Regions from separate parts of the Homo sapiens genome. Here region 2 is linked to region 1. The links are contacts of gene promoters, found by promoter capture Hi-C in blood cells and fetal thymus (Javierre and others, 2016). All regions are on one chromosome and are shown on one strand. The core of a region is centred on a gene start or on the middle of the fragment in contact, and the rest is flanking DNA. Distances in the headings are between cores, read along the strand shown.

Region 1 (6,615 bases), core at 1,876-4,375:
GGATGGATGAATGGGTGAGTGGATGGATGGGTGAGTGGATGGATGGGTGGGTGGGGGGGGTGAGTGAATGGACAAATGGATGGATGGATGGGTGGGTGTGTGGGGTGGGTGAATGGATGGACAGATGGATGGATAAATGGATGGGTGGGCAGATGGTTGCAGAGCAAGCAATGGAGCAGACTTATAACTTAAGAAATGGAGAACTGACAAAGGAATGAAAGAATACATGAATAAACGCATGGAGAAACTGCGGAACACGAGAGCGCGTGGGAGGGGGATTGCACACCCGAAGTTTGGGAAAATGGGAGCCGAATTGGGGAACTTGGGCCCAGGGCACGCGCCCCCGCTCACCTGTAGCGTTGCAGCTCCGCCTCCAGCCGCCGCACCCAGCGCTGCAAGCCGGGCACCTGTTGCGCCAGCGCCTCCAGCTCTCGCACGCGGTGCAGGCTGCGCAGCACCACCTGCCGGGCCTCCTCCGCGCGCCGCCGCACCTCGGCCTGGCCACGGCGCAGCCGCCCAGCGCGGGCCTCCGCCGCAGCCAGGGCGCCCTGCGCCTGACGCAGCTCCCGCACCGCAGCCTCCGGCCCGCCGTGCCCCATCTCGTGGGTGCTCGCCTGGCTCTTCCAGAGTCCGACCTGCGGGGACAGGGCAGCAGGGGCAGGGGGTAAGTGCCCCAGCCAGATGCACCAGACGAACGCCCGCCACGACGGCGGCCCCATGCCTCTGCACCCAGAAGCGCTTGAGCACGTTTCTTGCGCCGTCTGCTTCCGGGTGCCAGGCCCTTAGGTCCGGTGCGTCCAAGCTCCTTTAACCCTCGCCACATCCCCAGGGAGGCCCAAGCTCTGATTCCTCCTCATCCCCCACCCCCCAACGTTTTTTCACTGAAGGAAACTGAGACACGACGCCTGTATTCTGTTCCCTCTATAGTACCAACCTCGCGACTCTTCTCGGCCTACTGTATTGGCGGCGTTCAGCCTGCCGGGTGGCGGTTCCTCATCTCCTAGACTCCCCCCAGTGGCATTTCCAGCCCTCCCCGTGCCTGCTCACTAGAGGCTTTTGAGGGTGGTTTCTATCTGTCTTTACTGGTGTGTTCCCAGAGCCTAAAACAAACCTGGCACATAGTAGGTGCTCAATAAATACCAAGCATGAGAGATGCCGGAAGACCGTTCAGGCGCATCCCATGGCTCCCAGTACGTTACTTGGGATTCCACATCAGAGGAGTAGTTTCCCGCCTCCACCCTGGCTTCCATGCACACTGACACTGAAAACCACACCTTGCCACTTCCCTGCACTCTGCAGTGTCCTGAGCTAAGGCGGGGTCATATAATGTCAGTTTCTTCCTGGCCTGTTGTCGCCTGGGGTAGGGGCTGTTCCTTTCCTCCTCTGACCCCTGCGGCCCAGCACTGCCCTTGGTGCTCGGCTGGCACAGTGCTTAAGTGTTTGTCGACGGCTCCCAGATGCTAAGGCTGGGTCCCTATCTCACCCCATGGTTTCTTCTCAATAGCCCAGAGCGGGTCTGGTTCCCGCAGGCACTTGGTGGCCCGTGAGTGCCTGATCCACAGTGTGAGCCACATTGTCTGTTTCTCACTTGTCTCTGTTTCTCCCACAGGGAGCCCCATAAGTCTTTGCTGATTGACAGAAGGAGCTGTCAGTCTACCCCAGGAGGCAGGGATATCCCTAAAGGTGAGGACAGGGCCTTCTTCACACTTCTGTCTCCTAAACCTCCCAGAAGCCTGGCAGGAAGGAGAGAGAAAGATGCTTGTTGAAAGGGAATATGTGAGACTACCCAGACAGGTGCAATTCCTAGGTTAAAGGGGCAAGACGCGATGATGTGGCGGTGGAGCAGAAAAGTGGGGTATGGTTGTTTGAGTGTGATTGGGGTTTTCAGGAATGGAATAGGTGGTAAGAATAGGGTTGGGGACTGGAGTGGAATGGGGAGGAACAGGGGCAAGATGCAAGTGTGCTGATGCGGAGTGGGATGGTGTGGGGCTGCCCTCTGTCTCCCCTTCCTCTGACTCTGTCCTGTCGGGCTCCGCAGCCAGCCAGCTTTTAGTTCGAGCCCTCTCCCGGGCGTTACCACCCTCCCTTCGTGGCCGGCGCGCACCTGCAGTGCTAGGCAGCGCGCATCACTGCTCTGCAGCGCGGCGCGCAGGTCCTCCACCAACTCGCGCAAGCTGCTATTCTCCTCCTCCAGCCGCGCAACGCGCTCACAGTCAGGACCGCTGTCGGGGCCAGGCGCGCAGGGCGGGCGGCGGCGGCGGCGCGGACGGCGCAGGCGGATCTGCGTCTCGATGTGCTCGCTGAGAGCGCCGCGGGGCAGCCGGGGCCCCGCACGGGTGCCGAAGTAGCCACAGAGGCGCGCGTGGAACTGGCGGAAGGTGAGCTCCGGCGGCTCGGCGCGCAGCGCCAGGCGCGCCTCTTCATCGGTATCTGAGTCCCCGTCCGTGGCCAACTCAGCGGCCGCATCCCCGGGGGTCACATCTCTGGAGTTCCCGTCACCTGCTGCCTGCCCGGCCGTGGTGGCCCCCTCCGCGCGCAGCCCCAGCACAGCGCAGAGCGCTCGGAAGTCGGCGCGGGGCAGACGGCCGGCGCCGCGGCAGTCCAGGTGGTGGAAGACCTCCTGCAGGTACTGGTCCAGGCCGGTGGCCAGCACCACGATCTCGTTCTCCACGCCGCGGTCCAGCCCGTAGTGGTGCGCCAGGGCGCTCAGCAGCCACTGCGTGCGCCGCGCAGGTCGCCGGTACGGGTCACCTCCCGCGCCCTCCATGCCGGCCTCCGCGCCCGTGCTGACCGGCTCCATCGCTGCGCCGCGCGCCTCGCTCCTCCGGTCCCTCCTCCGGTCCCTTCGCCCCGCCACTTCCAGGGGCGGCCCCAGAGTTTCTCGAAAGGAGGGGCTTAGCGGTCGCGGTCTGGTTGGAGCGGCGCCGGGGACCGTGTCCAGCAGCTGCGCTGGCCTCACAGTGCGTCTGGTTTACCCCAGTTGCTTTGGAGGGGCCTGGGGTAGGGGGTCCAGGAACCCCCGGGACCCCGGCAGCGCCACCAGTGCCCGGTCGGCGTCTGGGTCTGGCTTCTCCGCGTGACTCCCACGCTCTCCTCTCCTCACTCACGGGGCGTTCCTGGCGTCTGCGCTTTTCCTCCCACTCCCGGCCGTCCACTCTCAACTCCCTCCTCCCTCCGCCCCGCCCGCCTGGCGCGGAGAGTTCGCTCCGAGACCTGGGCGAGGGGTTGGCGCGGGATCCGAAGCCCAGGAGGGCCTTGGGGGTGGCGGCCTCGTCCGGTTGCTGGGGATGTGCCCCCACACCCAAGCGTCACTCTTCCCCCTCTTCCCGGAAGGCCTTTCGAGGGTTGCCTGGCAAGCCTGCTCTCGCCGCCCTGTAGCCGTAGGTGCGGAAAAGCCTCCCCTCCGCTTCAATTCAGCTACTGGGTTTCCGAACCCACTTCTTGTGCCACCATAGACCGTGCAAAGAGCCCCAAGTAGTAACTGGGAAAGAGAGGGAAACAGGCTTGGAGAGGCAAGGGGTCTAGGTTAGGGGCACCCCGCTGGTGAGAAGCCCATCTGAGACGAGCCCTGTGCTAACTGCTCTCTCCCGATCCCTGTTGGGGGTGGGGATAGGACTCTCGGGAAAGTGGTGTCTCCCGGCCCTGCCACCTTTGTGCCTGCCGGTGCTGACTTGGCAATGGGATCCGAGTTCCATCTCTTGAGCTGGGGTTAGGTTAACAGGTCGATGATTGGCTGATGTTTTTTTCTGGTGTTTTAGAACACATTTCTGGAAGATGAAGAAAAACCTGCTTCTCTGGTGAGTGCTAGACTGTGTTCCCTTTCTTTTTCACGAGAGGGGTGCAGTGATATTGTGATATTGTCCACCTGTTACCTGCACCGGGAACGGTTATCCAGCCACGGTACCCAGCCATGTTGGAGCAAGAGGCAGACTCTTCAGCTGTTCCTAGCTATGACAGAGACAGAATCTTGCCTTGTGGATAACTCTGTGAGTTTAAATGTAAAATCTTGCCGTTTGAAAAGCGATAGCATTCTGTCTCCTCTGCCACAGTATCCCAGAATCAGCACGTTGTCCATTTGGCAAATTCGTACTTGTTCTTGAAGGCTTTGCCCAGAGTACATATCTGCTGGGAAGGAGTTAGAGGCTTCTCCCCAAGCATTTTGGACATATTCTTTTAGGTTTGTTTTTAATTATAAAAGTAATGGCAATTTGACAAAGTTTTTACATCACGTCCACTTCTTGGCTTCTACCTTCGAAAGCCACTGTGCACAGGATGTTCACTGCATCATTGTTTATTACAGTGAGAAACTGGAGACAACCTGGTGTCCATCAAATCAGCTAGGACTCAGCAAACGAGGATGAGCGGACACAGCAAGCCACAAGCTGATTATGCACAACACTGATGCTTACATAACAAGAACAAAAACACACAAAACAATACTAAGTATTTTCTACTAGGACATGTGTATGTGAGTGCACAGAAGAAGATGGAGGGATTCATAAGTGGATTCAGTGGTTCTTTCTGCAGATGGGAGACACTGCAGTATTTCCCTTTTGTTAAGATGTTCTCATGTGTTTCTTTTTCTTGGCCGGTCGCGGTGGCTCACGCCTGTAATCCCACCACTTTGGGAGGCCGAGGCGGGTGGATTGCCTGAGGTCAAGAGTTCGAGAACAGCCTGGACAACATAGTGAACCACCCCCATCTCTACTAAAAATACCAAAAGTTAGCTGGGCGTGGTGGCAGGCGCCTGTAATCCCAGTTACTTGGGAGGCTGAGGCAGATGAATCGCTTGAACCTGGGAGGCGGAGGTTGCAGTAAGCTGAGATCCTGCCATTGCACTCCAGCCTGGGCGACAGAGCGAGACTCCGTCTCAAAAAAAAAAAAAAAAAAAAAAAAAGAACCTGATTTTATTTCATGTCAGCCCTAAGAGCTGGTAGCCCAGGCAAGAGTGCAACACCCTCCCCACCCCCCATCCCTGCAGCTGGTGAAGGAATCCTTTGAACAGTAGCTTTCCTGGGCCAGTCAATATTGAAAAGAAAGCTTTTAAATGTCTTGCTGGGAGCCGTTGCCGGCCTCCACTCCCCTACAGCTCAGGGAAGTAAGGGTTGATAATGGTTTGCTGTCAGGCCTGTCTGTCTGCCCTGCGGTGTTACCAGGCACCTCTGAAATAATTCTGGTTGCATCCACAAGGTTTTTGTTTAAGGTTCAAAGTGAGCAAACTCAGAGGTCTCCTTGCGTTCTTTTGTATGAGCTGGGGGGATGGGCGTGTGTCTGTGTGGGAGAGAGTCAGGGCTGTGGCAAAGAAATGATTTTCTGAAGTCAGTTCAGTATTGTTTGAGCCATTTCAAATAGTATATTGTTTAAAGTGTCTTTTAAAGGTCCGGGAAAATGCTAAAAAGCAAAAATCATCCACCATTCTGCCACCAAGAGAGGATCACTGTGTATTTCTGATGTATTTATTTCCAGACTTTTCTATGTATTTGGGCATGAAAGAACTTTTTGGAGTGATTGAAATACTCTATCTTCATGGTGTAGTGGTTGCATGACTGTGTACATCTGAATTTTACAGTGTGCAAATCGTAGCTCATTCAACTTGACATGAAAAGCACAGTGGAAAGGGCGCCATTGGGATCTTTCTTTGCACAGGAACTGAGCTTTGTAAACAGCTTGGCTGTGGTTTCTTTGCAGACACTGCTCCAGAGGCTGCTCTGTGCTCCCTGGGGATGAACTATAAGGTGCTTTGTCATCCCCCACAGATGCCCACTGAGGTGGTTTTCAGCTTTTCTCCGCAAAAACCATACTGTGAACAGTTTGTGCCATATCTTGAGTGATTTATTACTGGGCCAAGGAGTATACATATTTTATAAGCTTGTGGTATTATCAGCCTGTTTTTTGGAAACTTGTGTTGTTCTATCCAGAGCCCAGAACTGTCTGGGAATGTCCTTGGGCCATTATTTTCAGTGTCATAAAGCTTTTGGGTTTTTAGGGGTCTTGGTTAGTAGATTTGCTTAGTGTTCAGACACCAAGCTTTACTTCTATTAAAAATAGGCCTGTTGTTAGTCAAAGATTTCTTAGATACGACACCAAATGCATGATCCAAAAAAGAAAAAAATGATGAATCGGACCTTCATCAAAGTTCAAAACATTTGCACTTCAAAAGACACTATTAAGAAAATATGACGAACAAGAGACTAGGAGAAAATATTTGTAAAACATATGCCCAGTAAAGGACTTATATTCCGAATTTACAATGAACTCTTAACAACTCAGTAACAAGAAGACAAACAATCCAATCAAAAAGTGGGTGAAGATACAAACAGACATTTCACCAAAGAAGTTGTATAAATAGCCAACATGTGCATAAAACAATCTCAGTATTCTTGTTAGGGAAATGCACATGAAAACTATGATGAAATACTATATTATACTCATGAGAATAGCTGTAGTGAATAAAACAGGCAATAAATCTTGTCAAGAATTTGGAGAAACAGGAAACTTCATGTTGTTGATGGGAACACAAAATGATGCAGCCCCTGTGGAAGATAGTTTGGCAGTTTCTCAAGAAGTTAATCACAAAATGACCATACGACCCAACTCTTCCACTCCTAGATATCG
Region 2 (6,615 bases), core at 1,264-3,763, 270 kb before region 1:
AAAATTAGCTGGGCATGGTGGTGGACGCCTGTAATCCCAGCTACTCGGGAGGCTGAAGCAGGAGAATCGCTTGAACCCGGGAGGCGGAGGTTGCAGCGAGCAGAGATTGTGCCACTGCATGCCAGCCTGGGTGACAGAGCTAGACTCCGTCTCAAAAAAAAAAAAAAAAAAGAAAGTCACTGTCTCTCAGGACTTCAGTATCCTCAACTACAAAGTGGCAGGGATGATAATACCATATTTCAGGCTTCTGCTAAGTTCAAATGAACTGATGGACATAAAAGGCTTATATCTCATGTCACAGAGGCTCTTGCACGTTGACTGAATCTGAGAGCACAAATGAAGGGGACAGCCCCACCACGAGAAAACCACAGGGCAGGTGTCTGCAAGACCCAGGGGACTAGGTTGTTTCAATGTGGCTACAAACTGTCAGCTGTAGGCAGGGTACTGAAGCAGAGCCTCCTTTCAACCCTGTTTATAAACACTCAGCCAAAAAAAATCATCCCATTTCCTTTTGTTAACTGTTTTAGGTATGATAATTGTATTGTCCTTTAAAAAAGGGAAGGGGTCATTCTCTCTTAGAGAAACATACAGATACAGGATTTACATATAAAATGCTATTTCTGGAGTTTGCTAGTAAATAATCTGGGAAGGAGAATGAGTGTGGGTACACTCAGCCAACCCTGTAGAAAATAAGACAAAGGATATGAAGACAATGATCAGAAAAGGAAATACAAATGCCTCAACATTTAAGAAGATACTTAACTTCATTGAAAATACAAAAACTACACTAAGATATCATTGTCCACACAGACTGGAAAAGATCATAAAGTGTGGTAACATATTATGTTGTCCACAGTGTAGGAAGAAAGGTATACAATTCTATGGAAGGCAACTTGGAGTTATTTATCAAGATGAGAAACACAAATCACTTTGAACTGGTGATGCCTTGGAAAATTTATCCTACAGATATTCTCAGTGTACACATGCAAAGTAAACTGTGTGTGTGTGTGTGTGTGTGTGTGTACACGATTATTTACTGTAACATCTGTAATAGCAAGAGATTGAAATCAAACTAAATGTTCATCAGTAGTGGCTGTTCCATAGAATATGTGGTGCATCCACACAATGGAATACTAAGCAACTATAAAAAAAATGAGGATTCAGTTTGGGATGAAAAAAGTTCTGGAGATGGATGGTGGTCATAGTTTTACAATAGTGTGAATGTACTTAATGCCGCTGAACCATACACTTGAAAATGGTCGAAATGGTGAATTTTATGTATATTTTACCACAATTAAAAGAAAAAGAATGAGGAAGCTCTACATATTGACGGGGAAGATCTCTAAGATGCAATGTAAAGTGAAAAGCAAATCGGAGGACAATATATATACCATTTGTACATAAACATTTGAGTTAAAAAAAGGAAATGCGTTCCTATTAGCTTTTATAGCCATAAAATAACCGCAAGGTTATACAAGTATTGTTTGTAATAGTAACACTGGTCGCTTCTCGGAAGGGAATCTGAATGGCTGGCAGCCAAGGTAGGGAGGAAACATTTCGCTGCAGATTATTTTATACTTTGTGAATTTTAAATGCTGTGAATTTTGACTCCCCATATTTACAGTGGAGTCCTTAGCCCAGGATCCAGTGGCATCCAGGCTGTAAGCTATCCAGGCCCTCCCCATCTAGAAATGCCACTTACCAGCCAGGAGCAACGTGTGGGTGTTCTTGTTATCCGGCACTTTGTCTGACCTCTCACAAGGGTGCATTCCCAAGAACTTCACAATATTACCCACAGCCTCTGTAATGAGAAATCCCAATATTGTTAAGCCATCTTATCTGCCCTTTGTGCCACCACCACTCCCCCATGTTCTGAAGGGCTTTTAATGAAGTGGCATTTGACATATGTGCTCCAGACATGGCCCTGGATCCTTGGAGAGAAAAGGGATGAGCACTTCAATAGTAGCCAAAGATCTTGAACAGTAATTAGGCCAGAGATGGCATTCCCAGGATTTTACCTTCAAGTGTCTTGATGGTAGACAAGGTGAACGTTTCCTCCTTCTCAAATTCATCCCCTACCTCATCCCAGGCTGCTTCGAAGTTCAGTTTCATGACCTTTTGAATGTGATCAGCTACAGTAACTTCCAGATCTTCCAGCTGGAGAGATGGAGGTAGAAATCAGGCACCCATCTACACACCTACGGGCCTCTGCTCTGAACTCATCCACACATCCCTTCCTGCAACTCTTTCCACAGGTGCTTGCTCGGCACTGAGGACTGTGCTAGACTCTGGGGACATAGAGCAACTTGACCAGGTACCTATCCTTGAGGTGCCCAAAGGCAAATGGTATCCCTTCAACAGAAAACGCCCTAATCCCAAGTACCAATCTACTAATTCAGCCTAGAGCCGCCTGCTGTGAGATCACATCTCTTCTAAGCCTGCCTAGTGTCAGTGCTTCCAGGACCTGGCATGCAGGGAATTACATAGCATTCTCAGAGGTCTGCTTCCTATGCCTGTCCCTCCTAGGGGATGATGAGCTCTTCAGGACCAGCAGCTGTTTCTAGTTCAGCAGAAACTAGCAGAAACCTCCTACCCCAGCTGTGTCCTCTGGATTTGACAGATCCTGAATCTCTATCTCCATTTCAGCTGTGTCTTCCCTGAACTTGACACATAATACTCCCACTGAGTCTACATGAAGGTTCCCCATTCATTCTCCCATCAGATTTTCACTGAGGCCCTACTCCTGTGGATGTTTACAGTGTATATAAATACAACTTAGACCCAGCTCTCTCTCTCTTTTTTTTTTTTCTTCATCTCTGGATGGGCTCAAACAGACCCAGCTCTCTCAAGGAGCTCACTTGGTCTTAGAGCAGCTCCTGCCTCGGGGTCATTTCCAGCTCAAGGAAGGTCCATCCATCCTCAACTGTGACTCTAGGATGACACAATGGCGAATGTCAGTTGTATTCCACTGTGACTGTCCCTCTAGTCAGGAGGAGTTCTAACAGTCCCCATCCACAGGCTGAGCATAATGGTCTGCACTCAGATGGCCCTGAGCCACTGCCCCAAAGTCAGACCTCAGAAGGATCCTGTACTTAGTTCCACCGAGCTAAGATAGGAGAATTTAGAAGGGCTATTCCAGTGCATGAAAGGACTGCCCAGCACAGCAAACAGGTCAAATTTATCCAGAAAGCATTTGACAAGAGGAATCAAAATGTCTTAAAATCATGCTTACCCTTTGACCCAACTATTCTCCTTCTAGGAATCTATCCTAAAGAAATAATCTAAAATGCAGATAAAAATTTGTATCTAAAGGGATATTTAATGCAGCAATATAAATAGTGAAAATATGGAAACCCAAATGCCCAACATTAAAGGAGTGAAAAGTCAATCAAGTTTTGACATAGTATATAACAGTATTTTAAATCCACTAAAAAAATTGTGTTTATGAAGTATTTGTAATGATACTGGAAAATACACTATGGTTTTAAAATAGCAAGGTCTACACTGTAAGAATGATTTCAATTATACCACTTCCCCCCAAAAATAACTCTAAGGATTATGAGTAATGTTTTCCTGTTGTTCATACTTTGTTTTGAATTTTGTTTTTGTATTTCCCAAGTTTTCTTTTTACACATGAACATGTATTTCCATAAGTTTAAAAAGTTATTTTAGGCCGGGCGCGGTGGCTCACGCCTGTAATCCCAACACTTTGGGAGGCCAAGGTAGGTGGATCACCTGAGGTGAGGAGATCGCGACCAGCCTAGCCAACATGGTGAAACCCTATCTCTACCAAAAATACAAAAAATTTGGCAGGCATGGTGGTGGGCGCCTGTAATCCCAGCTACTTGGGAGGCTGAGGCAAGAGAATCGCTTGGACCAGGGAGACAGAGGTTGCAGTGAGCCGAGATCGCGCCACTGCACTCCAGCCTGGGTAACAAAAGAGAAACTTCATCTCAAAAAATAAAAATAAAAAAATAAAATTTTAAAGAGCTAAAAAGCCAAAAACAGCTCCAGTCTCACTGTCAGTTCCTGAAGGGAGTTGCTTTGCAGCCTCAGCACAAAACTGAGCTTCCTGACACCAGGATCTTACCACATACTCATCCTCATAGCCTTCGTCATCAGTCTCCCCAGTGGTGGGATCACAGTCCTTGACAGTGAACTTCATCATGCAGCTGAATGTGCAGGCCACTGTGGGGAAGAGAGGCTGGGTAGTTAGGATGTCCCCAGCCTGCAGGGGATGGGCTCCTCCTGCAGGGGACAAGCAGGCAGGGGTCACAGCCTGCTTTCTAGGCCCCTGCTATGTTATTAGTAGCAGCAACAAGCCATCCAATCCCACAAAGCTGGACAGAGGGTGCCACCTTGTAGGACAGGAAAGTCATGAGTTCTAGTGAGATCCTGTCTCTTTAAAAAAAAAAATTTTTAAAGAAGAGCACTTGGGACTCAGCTATTCTTCTTCTTGGGACTGAAATCAAGGAGCTGAAGCTCTAATAGAAGGCAAACAGCTGGTGCCCAGCCGCCCACCTCCTCCTGACCCCATGAGCTCCCAGGAGGATAGGGTGGTATCTGGAGAGGGGCTCACCAGCTGTGGGGTCTTCTTTGGGCAGTGCCACCAGTGTGTAGCAGGTCCCGGGCTGGTTGTAGGGCAGGCTCCGGGCAGGCACGTAACAGAGCACCTCATAGGCCTCAGTGGGCTCCATCTGCACTGTGACATTCTCCAAGGTCTGGTCATTGAGTGTGTTTGTGCAGTCAAACTGAACAGGAAAGAGAGGGGAGCTTAAACATTGCACTAGGTCCGAGCCATGCTGCAGAGGAAAAGCCAGGAGGTCCCACCTCTTTCCTATTGACCAAGGTGATTCCCATCCCAGTCCCCCTGCCCCAGGTTCCCTGTCTTCATGCTGACAATCGGGAGCCATGGATGTCCCGAGTCAAGAGATATGAGAGACCGACCTGTTGGGGACAGATTCTGTCATCAAGTTGGGCTCCCAACCAATGCAGTGTGGGGACCCATGACCCTACAGGACCTGCCAGACCTGGGACAACTCCCTGGGCGCATGCCCCAGCAGGGCCTCAGCCCACCTTGCTCACCTGAAAAACCATGTGGTTGGTGAAGGTGTGTTTGGTGCAGCGGATGACATACTCCGTCTCTGACTCGGTGAGGGCCACGGGCTCAGGCGAGGACTTGAAGAGGGGCCCAAGACCGCGGAACTCTGGCACTGCTGCCAACTGCTCTGAAATCCACAGGCCACATTCACTCAGCTTCTCGATCCCCAGACCAACTTGTTGATGGTTTCTAATAAATTCCCATGACCATTCTCAAGGTGTTCCACCCTACCTTAGATGGATAGATATGTTTACCCAACTGGCTACTCATTATTTCCTGAATATATCCATGCATTTTCTCATCTCCCTGACTTCGCTCATGTGGCACAACCCCCCACAAATACTCTCCCCATCTCTGTACCATGAAAGACCTCAGAAGCAAAAAACTGATATGAGACCACAAAATCCTAGACCTAATTGGAGAATCCCCCAGCTATAGAAGCTTAGCAAGGATTTCCGCCCCCTACCGCAGCAAGGATTCTTAAAAGAAGGTGACAATTAGGAAAATAAGATCGATACTGCTATAGCTACAAAATCAGACAAAATAACAAACTGGTCCTATATATTTATCAGTTAAGACAAATGGCCAATAAAGAGATATTTCAGAATGAGAGTGTTGCAGAAAACCTAACTTAGAATTGTTTGTGTCTGGTAAGACCTATCCCTACACCCTATGCCCAGGTTCAAGCACTGGATTCAAGCACAGGCCCATGGGACCCCACCCTGGCTGGTCCTGGCATTCCTTGCAAACTAAAGGGAATAACCCAAGTGAATGAGGCATCTGGCAGATGTGTGCACATGGTGTCCACCTATAATGGCTACAGCTGCCACTCTTGTACCTATTCTATGGCAGGATTCCTCGCACTATGACCATGGATCAACTGTATCAGAATTACTAGGGGTTGGCGGCAGAGCTTGCTAAAAACTCAGACTCCATCCCAAATCTACTACATCAGAATCTCTGGTTTCAGGATCAAGGAATTTGCATTTCTAACATGTTTCCTCAGATTATTCCAATATATACTGATATTTAAAGACCACTGCTCTAAGATTTTCAACTTGTCTTCCCAATTAATTGAACTCCATGAGAACAGGGATTGTGCTTTGAGGCCATGGATCTGATATTTTTCCCTTTACTTAGAAGGTACTCAATTCACGTTTCAGACATAGAGAAAGGTAGGCCTTATTTTTATTATTTTGCTTTTTTCCTCCACAAAAAGTCAGCCTATGTGACCACTTCAGCCCTCTGCAGCCTGAAGACTGAATCTAATGAATATGCAGGCAATAAAAAGCCCAGAACAATCCAGGCTAGATATTAGGAGGAACTTTTGGGCCACCATGACCATCAACCACTAGAGTGCTTTTCTATTGATATTTATTTTCTTGGGACTCAGAGTTTTGGGCCTGATACTTACTCCCTGGGGGATTCTGTTGGTAGGGTTTCAGACTCTTCATCAATAAAACTGATATCATTATCTTGATCACAGCGTTGTTGTAAAGACAAATGAGGCAATA

The links. Contacts are between HindIII fragments. The CHiCAGO score rates a contact against its expected background, and 5 or more counts as called.
Region 2: a contact is called between a fragment that was not itself captured here and the fragment with the promoter of EFCC1 in region 1, in 1 of 17 cell types (total B cells). The highest score is 7.6, in total B cells.

What each region holds. Positions count from the first base shown.
Region 1 is chr3:128,997,814-129,004,428 of GRCh38, reverse strand. It overlaps EFCC1 (EF-hand and coiled-coil domain containing 1), which reads right to left and starts at 3,125. Exons shown (of 8, transcript NM_001377500.1): 1 at 2,105-3,125; 2 at 352-635. The coding sequence starts at 2,800. It also overlaps a transcript of CFAP92 not described here. The HindIII fragment of the contact is 12,645 bases long and covers 1-5,042 here.
Region 2 is chr3:129,270,380-129,276,994 of GRCh38, reverse strand. COPG1 (coat protein complex I subunit gamma 1) reads right to left here. Exons shown (of 24, transcript NM_016128.4): 19 at 5,086-5,228; 20 at 4,580-4,751; 21 at 4,091-4,188; 22 at 2,019-2,157; 23 at 1,703-1,801. It overlaps MIR6826 (microRNA 6826), which reads right to left and starts at 4,849; the gene lies at 4,752-4,849. The HindIII fragment of the contact is 6,063 bases long and covers 1-5,544 here.